Regions from separate parts of the Homo sapiens genome. Here regions 1, 2 and 3 are each linked to region 4. Evidence: promoter capture Hi-C in human tissues and cell types (Jung and others, 2019). All regions are on one chromosome and are shown on one strand. The core of a region is centred on a gene start or on the middle of the fragment in contact, and the rest is flanking DNA. Distances in the headings are between cores, read along the strand shown.

Region 1 (3,866 bases), core at 200-2,699, 130 kb before region 4:
CATCTGGGAGTGGCCTGGCTTACAGCCATTTTCCCTTGAGAAGGACCCTGGCAGGGTGTCGATCCCATGGGACCTGGCCCCTGGCCACAGGCTGATTGGTCACCGCTGACCCCAGCTGGGGCACCTGATTCTGTGTCTTGGGATTCTGAGGCACAGAGAGAGTCACAGGTCTGGTCTGTCTGTGGCAGTGGCATCGAAAGGAGTCCCAGGCTGCAGCCCCCAGGCCTCTGACACCACCCGGGCTCCCCTCTTCCTGAAGCTGGATATTCAGCTCTCCCTTGGATGTCATGAGCTGCCTTCAATTCCTCCACTTTGGCTGCATGGGCTAGAGAGGTTTCTGAGGCTTCCAACAGGAGCCACTGTTGGAGCCCTGTGTGGACAGAGGGACAAGCTCAGTCACCAAGGAAGCCCAATCTCAGGGACTAGGGCTACCAAGGAGTCACCTCTGCCCTCAGTGAAGATACAGGTGACAAACAGTATGTTTTTGGAAGATCCCTCGAGTTCTGTTTCTCTCTAAGGTGCTTTCTATCTCTGCATTGGTCACCAGGAGGGATAAGGGTCAGTGTGACACCACCTCAGGAAGGGGGGATTTGGGGGTAGCTGTCCCTTCTGGTCGGGGCATCGTGGAAGGGACAAAGGGGACATGTGGCTGACTTGTTGGTCATCATTTCCTTTCTCCAGGCTCAAATCCTGGATCTGGGGGAGGGAGGAGGTCCTGAAATCTAAGGGGTTCCTGCTTCTCTTCCTGTCTGAGGGTCTGACAGGAGACTGTGCCCAAACATCTCCCATGCCGACATCCCAGGCTCTCCATCGTGAGGGAAGTTTGCCCCAGCACCAGCATAGCAGGAATTTCATAGGCCAGTGTGCCAGATGCAGACACGGATGCTGGGATACCTTTGGGGAGGGTCTGCTGCCCACCTCTGCAATGTGGCCACTGCTGTTGGCCCCTCGGGGACAGCCTCAGCCTCAGAGACCCACCTCACCAAAGGTACAAAGACCCAGCCATGTCAGCCTGATGCTGTACAACTCTGATGATACTTCTCACTCTGTAGTGACCAGCTCGGTTGGCAGGGGCTGCGCTGGGCCCCCAGCACAGGATGACTTCCCTCGGTCTGTGCCTGTGGCACCTTCCTTTCTCAGATGTGACCCCTTATCAGCATCGTGTGAGCCCAGCTCCATTTCAGCATCTGCTTCTGGAGAACTCACTGGCGGCATCAGAGTGTAGGCATGTGGTGTGGATGCACAGATGCCTGGGCACAGAATGTCTGCCACACACAGACATCAGCTATTACTGGGGCTGACATGGATGGAGAAGGGGGACAATATTACCACTCTTGTTCTTCTAACCCAGCACAGCATTCCCTCTGTTCAGGCTGCCAAGACCTCTGACTGCCAGTGTCCAGCAGAAGGAGGGCACAGGAGTGAGATCTGCAAGGCTGAGATTCACCTACTAGGCTCTGTTATAAGAGATGAATGGGGATTGCTTAAAGGGACATCAATGTCACTGACATCACCCTGCCATGGGAGGCTCATAAGGAAGATTAAATCATACAGTGTGAAGAGACAGATGTTCTTTGCACATCTGAGAGACCCCAACAGATATTCAACCATGTAAACTTATATTTTGAGCCATTTTTCATGAGATTTTAAACAATTTTATCTACTGTAAAGTACATATGTGCTGTGAGACATCTCTGGCATAATTTTCCTCCTGTTTCTCTAGGGAACGTGCAAATAGATAAAAACTTCAGGCTTCATGTCCCTTGCCCACACTAGAGGCCTGGGGCCTCTCAGACAGGTCACCTACAGTATTTCTGTTGACTCATTGCCATTACTTGCTTTCAGAGATAGAGAGAGAGAGATTGAGAGAGATTGAAAGAGAAGAAGGAGTCAAGTTATTCCCCAGTGATATAAAGACTTGGGCAAGCACGTGGTTCTTGCAACCCAGGGGAAGGGGACATGGAAGGATGCTACCAAGGCCAGCCCTGGCAAGCCCAATGCCCATTTCACGGTGAAACTTTGCATATTTGTGACTTTCTTTTTTCGCAAATCTCCCAAGGCTAGGTCCCCTGGGAGGAAGGGCCATGGACCCATCATGATAAAGCGTGATGGTGCTGCATGTGGCCTCCCTGCCATCCTTCTTGGGCATGCATTTGCACCTGTCTGATGGAGTCTTTGCAGGAGGCTGGCCCACCCTGTCCCTTCTGTCTCACTCTCAGAAAGGGCGTCCCCCTCTGCACCACAAATCCAATATCTGCAGGGAGCTGCCGTGACCCACAGTGGACTTGCTATAGATGTGGTGAGAGAAAGAGGCAAAGCAAGGCTGTTCATGGGGATGAGGGGGAGAAAATTTGACCGAAGGCTTAGATTGACCTCTATAAAACCAGCTCTGTGGTGTGTGTGGAATTAAAATTCTTGACGAAGAAGCCAAATTAAAATTCTTGATGAAAAAGCCTATCAGGAGTCAAAAGTGAACTTAGTTACGTTGCTGGGGTTCATCGAAAGGCAATCCTTTCCTTTTCCAGGCCCAGGGAATACGCTGCCCAAAGTGACGCGTTGAGGGAGGAACAAAGTTGAGGGTGGGGAGTCATGCTTGGTCTTCTGATGGCCGATCTGGTAAGAGTTTTAGCTGGAGGATTTGTAGCCAAACTGTAAGATGTAAATAACAGACCCTGACATGTAGGGGAGGATGAATGTCAGGACCAGGGTCACCAAGGACCTCACAGAGGACCTTGGACACGGACTCCAAATGAGGCTTATACATAAGATGTGTTGCGTTTGTGTGTCGTTTTGGTAAATGTAAACATTTAAGATGTAGTATAATTATCCTAAACTCATTCTGAAACTTTTTTACTTTCTTCCATATATGGGGTAAGAAAAAAAAAGGCAGTTCGTTCAAACCCTTCTCAACAGTGAAGGGTCCTGGCAAATTATATTCTATTAATCAGTCATCAAGTATTCAAATATTCATATAACCACCCACTGGGTGCAAATATGAACAAGAAACATAGATTATGTAAATTAGACATTTGAGTCCATTTAAAATAATTTCCTATCCATATGGGTCCTGTTGTTTGAAGTTTCAACCAAATTATATAACTTGTCATTGGCCCATTATGCTATTTCCTTTCTCTGTGAGTTGCAGCAGCTCAGGAGCTGGTTAAAGGCCAAAAAAGCTTCAGGGTCTCCATGTGCAGTTGGCAGCTCTGTCCTGGTGGGAGCTACCTGGTCCAGACTAGACCCCCCAGCACACCTGTTCATGACATTCAAGCAGGGCCAGGCAATCTCTCTTCTTGGGAAGTGAGAGAAGAGGGTTTGGTAGAGAGATGATCTTGCCTAATCTCATCCTTTGAGAGGCATGTTCAAGTGTCATCTGATGATGGATTTGGTGGCAAGAAAGGGACTCAAACTCAGGTTTCCTGATTCCTGTTCCCGAGTACTTTCCAGGAAACATCACACAGGTTCTTATAGCTCTTATGAACTTCTCAGCTAAGAATGCATGTGCTATCCTCTGACTTCAGTTCTCTGAGCAGCAGAGCCCAAGTCTGTCATTTGTTAATGGTGTGCCCAAGGTGTTGTTACTCTAAAGGGGACACTTCCTTCCCTGGATGGAAATTATATTCCAATTCTCACCTTTCAACCACCACCTCCACGAGCTTGCCTGCCCTTGTTCCCACACGTTCTGCTCTCTGGCCTGGTAGAAGGAGGTGACCCTCGCCCCCTGAGGACTTTGTGTCTTGAGTCTTCTTCTCTTTCCTGCATTGTCACTCTTCCCCTCTTCATGGACAGTTGCTGCCAGCATCAAGCTGTCATGATGCTTCCTGAGGGTGACAGCATGGGAGTGTGCGTGGAAATGGTGGAGTGGG
Region 2 (3,737 bases), core at 782-3,281, 64 kb before region 4:
AAAATTGTTAATTCATTTTTTCTTTAATTCTGTAAATATATGTGGTACAGTGGTATTTTTTCCAGAATAATAATCAGTTGAGTCAGCATAATTTATGAAATAAATTACAATATTAAATTAAAAAAATAATTAGCCAGGCGTGGTGGTGGGTGCCTGTAGTCCCAGCTAATCGGGAGGCTGAGGCAGGAGAATGCCATGAACCTGGGAGGCGGAGCTTGCAGTGAGTGGAGATGTGCCACTGCACTCCAGCCTGGGTGACACAGCGAGACTCTGTCTCAAAAAAAAAAAAAAAAGAAGAAAGAAAATAATTCATAGCACAGCCACATCATTCAATAGTATTTGGTAGTCATTAGAATGAAATAGAGCTACAGCAATTGAGCAACAAAAATCTCCTTGAATTAATAGTTAAGGAAAAAATCAAGATGCAGACTAGTATATATAAAATGTGCCCATTTGAGTAAAATTAACAAATACTTGAATATATTTGAATACCTATATGTATTTATATGTGCATAAAAGAGTAGATGCACATGTTTGTGTGTGTGTATGATTGTGCAAGCAAGGATAATAAGATAGACTGCTTACCAGATTATTGGTATGAATTATTGTGATTCACTTGTGGGACAGGGACATAAAGTGGAGAGTTAGATATGCATTTTCATTCTGTAGTTTATGTAAGTGTATATAAGGTATACTATATTTTTGTTATAGATGAAATTAATTTATGTTAAATGACTTAGATTAGAACAAAAAACACAGTGTTAGCACTATATCTACTGACTTAACAGGAAAGCATGGTAGTCAATTGAAAAAATGTGCAGAGCAATGTGGGTAGAGCGTGACCCAGTTTCCAAAAGAGCACAGCAAACAGCTGTACGTGTGTGCCTGTGACTATATATATGTGTGTGTCTGAGCAAAGAGAAATATATAGAAGGATATACAAGTGCTTTTTCACACTGGTACCTTCAAGGAGAGGTGCAATTTACATTTGAGGGGCAGTTCTGATTATAACTTTGTCTTTTTAAAGTTTTGTACTTTGCACATGTTTAAGTAGGGATATAAGAGTTTTCTAAGTTAAAAAAAAAGCACATATATATTTTTAATTTTGGATATGTTTTTTGAATAAGGATAAAAATATCTTTAAAGTTGGATTTAAAGATTTGAGCCACGGCATGAATACACCTACAGACTGCACAAAGTTAGCCTCGGAGAGGTCTTGCTTGCTATTTGGAGACAATGACCTCTTCTGGCCTCTATACCTATGAATGACCAAAAGAAATATGTAAAGGTTAATGCATTATTTTCCAAACAACTCTGGAGTGTACCTGTCTACTTGGAAGGAAGAAGGCTGGACATGATGTGCAACTCACTATGTAACCACTAGAAGATTCTAGAAGATTCTCTGATGTGCCACTCCCACCTTCCTCTCCTGACTGGTGTAAAGGAAAACCCAACCTGGTACATCCAAGGCTACTTTCCAGGACTGCATTTGGAGGACATTAACTGGAAAGATGCAGATTTTAAGGAAAAAGATTTTGGCCAAATCACTTTGGACAGTTGGAAAAACCCCAGCTTGTGCTCACCCTGGAGAGGCCAGACCTCTTCAACTTTGGTGCCTCTAAGAATCATAAAATTTCCTTCCTTATCATCTGGAAAATGCAAGCCTGGGCTTTTGCATTCAGATGTTGAAGGCTGCGTGGCCCTGTGCCCTGGGGTGGAGGCCTCTGAGAATGGAGGTAGTGCACATGAACTCGCTGGCCCTGCGTCCTTGTCTGTGAGCCCAGGGATCCCTATCTGGTCTCAGGGATCCTGGGGACTTCTCCATCCCTATTGTTCTCCCTCTTGTTTTGAAATCCCATGACATCTTTCATCTTTCCAGATGTCTATCATTGGCCTGCAAACATTTGGGGGAACCACTATGGGAGACAGAGTTCCTGCACACAGTGGTACAAGTGGTAGCAGTGCCTTATAACGAGCTACACTGAAAACATTATCATACATACTGGGACTTTTCTGGTTTGTAATGGAGGATCTTAAAGATAATTTCTTTCCTGTATTGCAACATTTGTTTAATGCCAAATTAATTTGCTTCTCTGGGACTTGGAAACAATCTAATTTCTCCTTAACATACATAATATGTAGTTCTCTGAGATGTGTCTATGAAAGTGATTTTCTTAGCACATTTAGTGTTAGCATTCAAACAGGAGAATTGCTCACCTTGCTTCAACCTCTTTATAGAGAAGGCATTCATAGGAAGAATTATGCTTACAGAATACTTCTTTGACTTTAAGACTCTGCCATGTGTCCATCTTTCTTGTGCTTTTTCTAAGTAACAGTTAAAAGTTAAAATGGCCTTGCTCTGAACAGAAACTCCCTCACATGTTCTTGTTAGATGGACCCCATCAGGGAAAAGGCAGAAAACAGACATCCGTATCTGAGAGCCTTTTGATGCCGCAAGCGCCAATGGCCCAGGTATAAAAACCTCCACCGAGTGGACCTGGGGGCTGGATATGTCAGCCTAAGGGTCTGTGCTAGTTTCTGGATATGAGAGTAGATTGGAGGTTCAGGATCAAAACAGATGAGAGCAGTTTGTGGATGGGACTGGGTAAATCTTGCAAGCAGAGACACAGTTGAAGAGGAACTCTTGGGAGGGGTGAGAGGACCAAATAAACAACAAGACACAGGGTGGTGCCAGGGGAGGGCAGCCCAGGTGCTGGCCAGAGAAGGTGTAGGGTGCAGACACTGGGCGGGGAAAGGGTGCAAAACTATGATAATAGCAGAAGCTCCGTTAATTAGAGCAGGAATTTAAAATCCGATTCTGAAGTGAGACTTGGCTGTGAGGGGTTGTGAAGCCCCAGGAAGAGGTGGGCAGGAAACAGAGGAGGAGAAGGGAAGATTCTGCAGCATGGGGGACTGGGGTCTGCCCAGCCCTCCTCCCCATCCAGGCTGGGGGCAGCTGCAGAACTCACTCTGTCAGTGTCGGGGGCCCGGGGTCAGTGTGAGCTCCCTCCAGCTCCCACTTCCATACCTACTGCTGTTATTTCCTTAATTCCTCAAGTGATATGTGAATTCTTTCTCATAAGTAATGAGGAACTGAAGGACAGGTCTCCCTACCCACCCGTTCTGGCTATGCTCTCTGTCCCACTTGCCCACTTCGTCCTTTCCATGGACATAAGGACCCAGGCTTAAACACCTGAGACAGTCATCTGCCCCTATTCAGAAAAGCCCTTCAGACTCACAGGAGAATTTTTTGGTTCTCCCATTCATTTATTCCTTCAGTTATTCCTTCCCATTACAAACTTTTGTTAATTGTCCACTAGACAACAGTGAGAACTTCCTCAGGGAAACCTCAGCCAGCCTCATCCTGCACTCCAAATCCTACATGTTCCTTTTCTGACGAGGTGTCCAGGGGACATCAGAGCCCTGCGGCCCAGCTCTGATCCCTGAGAGGCAGCTTCATCCCCTACCTTTCGGAGGAAGGCCTCTTCCTTCTGTGTTGCTGGCTCATCCTGTCCAGGTGGAGGAGAACCGATAGGGTGGTCTCTGAAGGATTTCTAAGCCTCCTTTCAGTTGTAGGTGTGCCCCAGCCTCTCTGGGATTGGGACTTTGCTTCGGCCCTGGGTTTCTGTGACTCAGTAGCTAGGGCCTGTCCTGCAGGAGATGTGGGACCCTCACCCTCTGAGAACTTCTGGGAGCTGAGTGAGCGCCAAGCTTCCAGAGCCCTGTGTGACATCATT
Region 3 (3,734 bases), core at 609-3,108, 85 kb before region 4:
TGTCTGAACCTCCCCTGGGTGAGAGGACAAGAATTCCCCAAGGAGGAGGGATTGCGAGACCAATGCTGCCGCTGTCTGGCAACAGGGTCTCCTCAAATGAATTCCACATCACCCAGCACAAGTTTAGGAATAGGCTTTATTTTGGAAAGGAGGAACTTACAAAGGTAAGATCAGTAAGAGAAGAGGCTGGACGTCCCCTCTCCTCCCAAGGCCCTGGCGGAGAGGGTTCTGGGCAGGGTGCTTTGCCAGGCACACACACACAGTGAGGTGGGGGGTGTGTTCCTCAGGCTCCTGCTGGCCTCTTGTGTAGGACATGGGCGAGCAGCCTTGGAGCAAAGGACTCACACACTGCTTTGACCAGCACTGTGGATTGGGTGTAGCTGTCAGAGGAGTTGTTTCAGTTCATTTGGGCTGCTGCAACAAAATACCATAGACTGGGTGGCTTATAAACAATAGAAATTTATTTTTCACAGTTCTCTAGGCTGGGAAGTCCTAGATCAAAGTACCAGCAGATTCTACGCCTGGTGAGGGCCCCCTCCCAGGTTTGGCTGTCTTCTCGCTGTGCCCTCAGGTGGTAGAAGGGGCATGGCAGTTTTCTGAGGCTTCTTTAATAAGGGCATGAATCCCATTCATGAGAGCTCTGCCTTCCAATGTCCCCTCCTTTAAATGCCATTGCCTTGAGGACTAGGATTTAACATATGAATTTCAGAGGAGCATAAACATTTAGTCTACAGCAGCAGTTGTCTGGAAATGTGGCTCCTAGAACCTGGGAATCTTAGATCCCATGGAAGCTGAAGCCGCCTGTTCTGCATACAGCTCCCAGTGGACCCTGGTCCTAGTTCTGGGCAATCAGAGTGAGTCCTTGGATCATTTCCTGACCCTCCCTGTCCCTATATCAGTAAGTCAGGGTAGCCACCTAGAGTGATGGCAGTTGCCAGGCAGGTGATTTGACAAAGAGCCCTTGTAGGAAGCATGGGGATTGGAAAGCGTGAGTTCTGGTCAAAGGGGACAGTCACAAAGAAGCTTGGGCTCATTTTTGTCATGTGCAAATGTGTGCCCAATGTCTCCAGAAAATTGGGTTTTACAAAAGAAAGCTTATTTCCAGATATTTTTTAAAAAGTGGACTCAATTGAGACCATCCTGGCCAACATGATGAAACCCCGTCTCTACTAAAAATACAAAAATTAGCTGGGTGTGGTGGCATGTGTCTGTAATCCCAGCTACTCAAGGGGCTGAGGCAGGAGAATCACTTGAACCCAGGAGGCGGAGGTTGCAGTGAGCCAAGATGGCACCACTGCACCCCAGCCTGGCGACAGAGAGAGATTCTGTCTCAAAATAAAATAAAATATAATATAATACAAATAAAAAGTAAAAAGAGTGGACTCTACTAACTTTGTATGTTATTAATGAATTCATTTTTTGTAGCACGGTGTGGGCCTAACAGACTCATCTGTGAGCTGGATGCAGCCTCTGGCTGCCAGTTTCAGCCTGTCTTGTAAATTGTCATTTGCAATGTGTTTTAATTCAACAAGCATTTGCTTATTATTCATTTTTGCAAATTTCATTTTTCTCCTGCAAACAGAGATACTAATCTATTCTGCAATTCCATAGGCTTGAGGGTGAGGGAGAAAGTTGGTATTGTCTAGAGCAGAGTTTGGCAAACATTTTTTGTGGTGTAACTCTTTTTTTTTTTTTAATGAAATCTTCTTCACTTGAGACTCCAATACATAAAGCACATAAAAGTGATAAATGGGCTCTTTTATTTCCATAGTGGAAATTGACTTTTTTCTCTCCCCCGTTATATAAATAATACATGTTTGTTGGGGGAAAAATAAAACAATACATAACAGTATAAAGAAAAAAGGGGGATGGGGCAAGCCCGTGAAATCAGACCTCCTGGCAGGGTCACCATTAACCCTTCCAACCATCATGATTTTGTGTATGTCCTCATGCACACACATATCTGTGTACACACACACATAACATTTACACAAGTGGGATTGTGCTGCATTTACTGTAGACTTCATTTTAAATGCTCATTTAGGTTCTCATTTTTTTTTTGCTTGTTTCTCCCCCTCCTCTCTTCTATCTCTTCACTCACTCTCCCCACTTCTCTCTTTACACCCCATGCCCAATATATGTTAAGAACCTAATGGGTATTTTTCCATTCTGCTCTCTATGTCTATGGTGTCTATGTCTATGTCTGTGTCTGTGTCTGTGTCTATGTCCCTATGTCTATGTATCTATGCATCTATCTGATCTATTTACGTATACCACGTGTGTGAGTAAAATCAGATTTGAGGGATCATTGCTTTTGAAAAACAAATGAGATAGCCTCATGCATACTACCCTGAACATTGCTGTCCTCAGTCAACATGGAAACTGATGCACAAACTCATTTGCTGCTACACAGGTATTGTATCCTGCATAGTATATTGATGCACCTTATTCAACATCCCCTTTACTGACACACATGCAAGTTGTTTCTGGTTTGGAGCCACTACAAATACACTGTAATAAACATTCTTGTCCATAAAATTTTATGTTTTGGTGCATTTTTTTCTAAGGTTAGAATCCGAGAAGTGAGATTATAGGATCAAAGAGTATGTTTTTAGTTTTAAAACATATAGTCAGATTGTTTTCTAATGATTTAAAACAATTCCCTGGCTTCCCTGAATGCTTACCAGAAAGATGGTTTACAATTCATTTTAATTTTCTCAGTCTGGTGGGCTGAAAATGATAATACACTATTTGTCTTGCAATTCTCTGACTTCAAAGGGTTTTGAATATCTCTTCGTAGGCTGATTAGCCATTTGGCTATGCTTTTCTGTAATGGGTATTCTTAGCCTTTTAAAAATTAATTTGTACATTATAGATATTAATTTACTATCTACCATATGCATTGAATTTTCTCTAGTCTACCATTCATCTGCTGAATTTATGATATCCAGCTTCTCTGTGAAATTGCAAATAGAAATCAGTTGCTTTCAGTTTGAAATATTTTACCATGTAAAATTAAAATGTATATTTAAAGGAATTTGCTTATCTTTTATTAGTTCTGATTCTTTGTCTCATTTAAAGAGGTTTCCTCATGACTATATGGATATGTGGTGAGAAACAATAGGAGCAATAGTGGTTATTGATAACTAGCTGGCTATTGCTATACAACAAATTATGTCAAAACTCTGCAGCTGAAAAGCAACAGCACTAGTTGTCTTGAAGTTCTGTGGGACAGAATTCTGGCTGTGGCTTAGCTGAGTCCTGCTTGTGGGTGTCTCACGATGCTGCAATGAAGCTGGAGGCTGGGGCTGTATTCATCTCCTGGCTTTACTGGGGAAGGATCTCCTTCCAAGCTCATGTGGTTGTAAACAGGATTTAGTTCCTTGCTGGCTGTTGGCCACAGATCACCCCCACCCAGGCCACCCTACATGGGCCTCTTCATAGGGCAGCTCAGTACAAGCAAGCAGGAAGGGTTAGCGAGAATGCTAGCCAAGAGGAAAGTCATAGTCATAGTCTTCTATAGCTGAATCTTGGAGGTGACATCAATCACTTTTGCTATATTCTATTCACTGGAAGCAAGTCACCAGGTCCAGCCCACACTGGGGAGGAGATTACATAGGATGTGAATACGAGGAGGTAGGACCCATCGGTGGCTGTCTTAGAAACCTGTCTGCCAGAGAGAGAGAATTACGTCAGTGTATGCGCTTCTGTTTTTAGAGGAAGATAGTTTTGTC
Region 4 (3,689 bases), core at 1,049-3,548:
AGATGAAATGTCTCCTTTGTGAAAATCTAAACGTATTTATTACGTACCAAAAACCACAGCACGGCCGACTCCAGACTTGGGAAGTGTCTAGCAGTTGTCCACGTGTCGCCTGTCTTTTATTGCAATGGACCAGTGCAAGAAGTAGGAAGCTTGAGCAAGATCCAGTTTTAAAGATATCAGCCGAGTAACATTTAGAAAAATGGGCAGAACACAACAGCAGAGTAAGAAAGTAAAACTTGTCAACAAATTTGTATGGTTAAATGTGTGTGTGCGTAAGAGTCATGTTCACTCATATTTTATTTTTTAGGGATGATATTAGAACTGTATTTGGAGACAAAATGAGCCATGGGTCCTGGCTGAAATGCTAAACTGATACATAAACACCAAGGAGAGGAACTTGCTTCCTTCTAAGGGGTGTGGAAAGTTGGAGAATAAAAGAGCCTCGTGGGATAGGGGGCAGTGATGCCAAGTGCTATTTATGGGCTATTTATGGGCCACCAGAGATTGAACTGCCTGTGGGGAGAAGGATCCAGAAGGGACTCTGGGTAGCAGAAATATCTGAGATGGAGTTTTACCTTTTTTGATGTGGAGTGAGTGAAGAGAGCCTCCTCTTTTACTTTCCTTAAGAAATCTTCAGTCCAGTATACGTTATACATTAATTAAGTTGGTATTTTGAGTGTGTTGCTTTTCGGGGTATGTAGAAGAGAGGCTGAATTCTCATTTGGCTTGATGTTGGAATCAGGAACAGTCAACTTTGATACGGGGCACAAGAGCGGGCCATAGCTGATACCCTGGTTTCTCTGTCTGGGCCTGGCCTATCTTGTGGCTGGGTGCACACCTGCTTTATTTTTTACTTGAAATGTCTTCTTTTTCCACCTGTCCTACTCATGTCTTCAAAGCCTAATTTTCATTTTCCCTGATCACTCCACCTCCTCTCTGCCCTCATTCATTCATTAGTGACTACAGGCTGGAGATGCCAATTTCAGGGCTTCTGCCCTAAGCCCCCAAGGGAGCTGTGTGCTTCTTGAGTGCAGATACTTTGTTTCACTCTTCCCCACTCTACCCCCCAAACCAGAAGAACAGAGCTCCTGTTTCTTCCTTTCCATGGTAGGCCCAACACCTGGCTTTGTGCCTGGCACACAGCAGACATTCAACATTTGTAGAACTGATAGACTATTAGATTAGTAGTGACAAATACTCCCCGAAGAAAATGCTTATTTGAACATACATCCCAAATTTTCTGCCCTCCAGAAAATGCTTCCTTGGAAGGATTTAAGACAGTTTGATGTCTCTGCAAACATTATCTGCGTTTAGGGACCAACTTGCCCTTCTCAGCGTTCACCTGGGATGTCTTTATTCTTCCATTTAACCTTTACAGGGGACCCCGATGGTGACGTGTCCTTCCTAGGGGCCATTACCTCTCTCAGGGATCCTAGTGTCTGGTAGAAAACAACAGCTCCAAGTTCTCTGCATCCAAACTTCGCCAGGATACGCAGATAAACCTATTTAAAAAAAAAAATCTTTTTAAATTCTCAACTTGGTGGTGTAAATAAGGCCCTTGCAGCGCCCTCAAGTAATAATCAACGGCAGTCATTATGGAAGGAGGGTAGAGATGAGCGCCTTACTCAAAGCCAAGACATTCACAATTTCTCGGGCCGGCTGCCTGTGCCTGGGCGTGTGCACTGTGCACTCCGAAGCTGTGTGCGGCGGTGGCCTTGGAGGTGCGCGTGGCCTTAGGAATTCCCGCGGTCGGGCACCCTCCGCTTAACACCGGGCCGTGTCCCCGGCCTGGGAGCCGAGCAGCGCGGCTCTGGCATGCTAAGTGGGCAGCACTGGGGCGCCTTTGTTCCTCGCGGCCGTCTCCCAGGACCGGCTTCCCTCTGAATCTAAATGGGCTTCTCCCTCACCCGCTCCGCCCTGGCCTCCTGGCCTGGGCACGGCGCCCCTGGGTAAAGCGCGCCCGGACACCTGGGGCGTGGGCGTGCGGGGGCAGCCCGGGCTAGGCGAGCGCGGGAGAGGCGCCTGCGGTCCCAGCCCGGCCAGGCCCGAGCACCTGCGCGAGCCCGAGGGAGCGCCCGGCCCTCTGCCCCCGCCAGTCGCCGGCGCCCAACTTGGGGGTCCCGCCGTCCGCAGCCCCAAGTCTCGCGGTGCTACCGCTCTGACCGGGGAGCCGCGGGCCGGGCGCCCCCCGCCGCGCGACAAAGGCTGAACCGGGAGGAGGAGGCCGAGGAGGGGGAGGAGGAGGAGAGAAAGGCGGGGACGGCGAGCGGCCGCGGCGGCGGGGAGAGCGGAGGGAGCGCCGCCCGCCCGCGCCGTCCTTTGTGTGGCGGCGGCGGCGCCTGGGCCTGACCGGGTCCCCGGGGCTGAGCGCCGGGCTCCGCGCCGCCCCTCCCGCGCCCCTGCCAAGCGGGCGCCTATCCTCTCCGAGCAAGATGGCAACCCCGGCGGCGGTCAACCCTCCGGGTGAGTAGCGGCCTGGGCCCCGCCGCCCGCCGCAGCCCGCAGGCCTTGCCCGGGGCCGGAGCGGACCAGGCGCGCCGGGCGCCCCCGGGGGCGCGGAGCCGCAGCTCGGCGCGGTGGGTGGTGGAGCGGCTGTCACTACGCGGCAGCCGCAGCATCAGCACCAGAGCGGCATCTGCATCCCAATCGCTGCCCATCCGGTCCCGGGCAGGCGCCGGTCCGGACCCGCGGGCGGCCGGACGCTGGCCTCGCATCCTCGGGAACCCGAAGGGCAGGCCCGGGAGCCCCCGAAGTTCTGAAAATAACCGCCTTTGCCTTCCCCATCCCACGCATTTTTCTCTTCCGGTCCCGGCTTTTGTGGCATCACGGCGTCAGCCAGTCCTGGCTGGTGGAGGGCTCCGCGCTGACGGAGGGAAAAGTTTGGAGCTGGGATTCAACAGGGTACAACTCCCGGGACTCTCCCCTGCCCGCCCCGCCCACTAAGCGCTGGTCCTTTGCGCCCTTTGCGACTGGCTGCTGTGTGTCCTAACCCTCCGGGGGCACAAAACACCCAGCCTGTGGTCACCAGCGTGGAGCAGCCCTGGTCCTGCCCAGGTGACATCCTCTGCTTTCTGGTCTGACCTGTCCCCAGGGTGCAGTCTGTGACAACTGAGCTCATTAGGAAATATTTCAAAAATGGAAGAGTTCTTGATCAAGTGGCAACATTGACTTGTTTTGGTATTGTAGTAGGGAAGTTCCGTTTTCACTGGGAAAGTTCCCTACCTGATGAGCAGGGTGTGGGAGAAGAGAAACGTGAACATCTAAGCTAGTACAAACTTTTGGGTGTTGTGCAGAGGCTGCTGTGGGCACGGCAGGTTGCTGGGTCCCTGTGGAAGATGCAGGGAGAGTCACAGAGGGCGGCCCCCAGGAAATTCCCAGCAGAGGGAGGTCATGTGTTGGAGATAGGGAGGGTCGGGGGAGGAACAGCAATGCCTAGCAAAGAAAAGTGTCTCTCATCATAGAATTAGGAATGAAAGATCCCTTTCATCTAAGGCGGCCAGGGAAGGCTTCTGGAGATTGGACATTTCGGCTGAACCTTGAAAACGGGAATGTTTGAATATACAGAGCCAGTAGCAGAGGGGCATTGCAGGCGTAAGTAACAGTGGACTTGCTCTAAGCAAGTGCAGAGGTCAGTGAGTAGTTGGTGCACTGGGGATATAAGAGGCAGCAGTGGGATTTAACACTGAGTT

Evidence for each region. The method cuts DNA at HindIII sites, captures the fragments that hold promoters and counts their contacts. A contact is called where the count stands out against the background at its distance.
Region 1: a fragment that was not itself captured here is called in contact with the fragment with the promoter of ARNT2 in region 4 in 2 of the 25 tissues and cell types used here (dorsolateral prefrontal cortex and liver).
Region 2: a contact is called between a fragment that was not itself captured here and the fragment with the promoter of ARNT2 in region 4, in 2 of the 25 tissues and cell types used here (bladder and ovary).
Region 3: a fragment that was not itself captured here is called in contact with the fragment with the promoter of ARNT2 in region 4 in 3 of the 25 tissues and cell types used here (adrenal gland, hippocampus and mesendoderm cells).

What each region holds. Positions count from the first base shown.
Region 1 is chr15:80,276,227-80,280,092 of GRCh38, forward strand. All of the region lies in intron 2 of LINC00927 (long intergenic non-protein coding RNA 927), which reads right to left. Among named protein-coding and RNA genes, the nearest start is that of CTXND1, 26 kb to the left of the region's middle. The HindIII fragment of the contact is 5,478 bases long and covers 1-3,866 here.
Region 2 is chr15:80,338,089-80,341,825 of GRCh38, forward strand. LINC00927 (long intergenic non-protein coding RNA 927) reads right to left here and starts at 3,717. Exons shown (of 3, transcript NR_033833.1): 1 at 3,468-3,717. The HindIII fragment of the contact is 5,859 bases long and covers 1-3,737 here.
Region 3 is chr15:80,317,686-80,321,419 of GRCh38, forward strand. All of the region lies in intron 1 of LINC00927 (long intergenic non-protein coding RNA 927), which reads right to left. Among named protein-coding and RNA genes, the nearest start is that of LINC00927, 22 kb to the right of the region's middle. RefSeq lists an enhancer at 112-612. The HindIII fragment of the contact is 6,133 bases long and covers 1-3,734 here.
Region 4 is chr15:80,402,084-80,405,772 of GRCh38, forward strand. ARNT2 (aryl hydrocarbon receptor nuclear translocator 2) reads left to right here and starts at 2,299. Exons shown (of 19, transcript NM_014862.4): 1 at 2,299-2,463. The coding sequence starts at 2,433. It overlaps ARNT2-DT (ARNT2 divergent transcript), which reads right to left and starts at 2,113. Exons shown (of 6, transcript NR_184070.1): 1 at 1,908-2,113; 2 at 1,419-1,502. RefSeq lists an enhancer at 1,730-2,230. The HindIII fragment of the contact is 10,967 bases long and covers 1-3,689 here.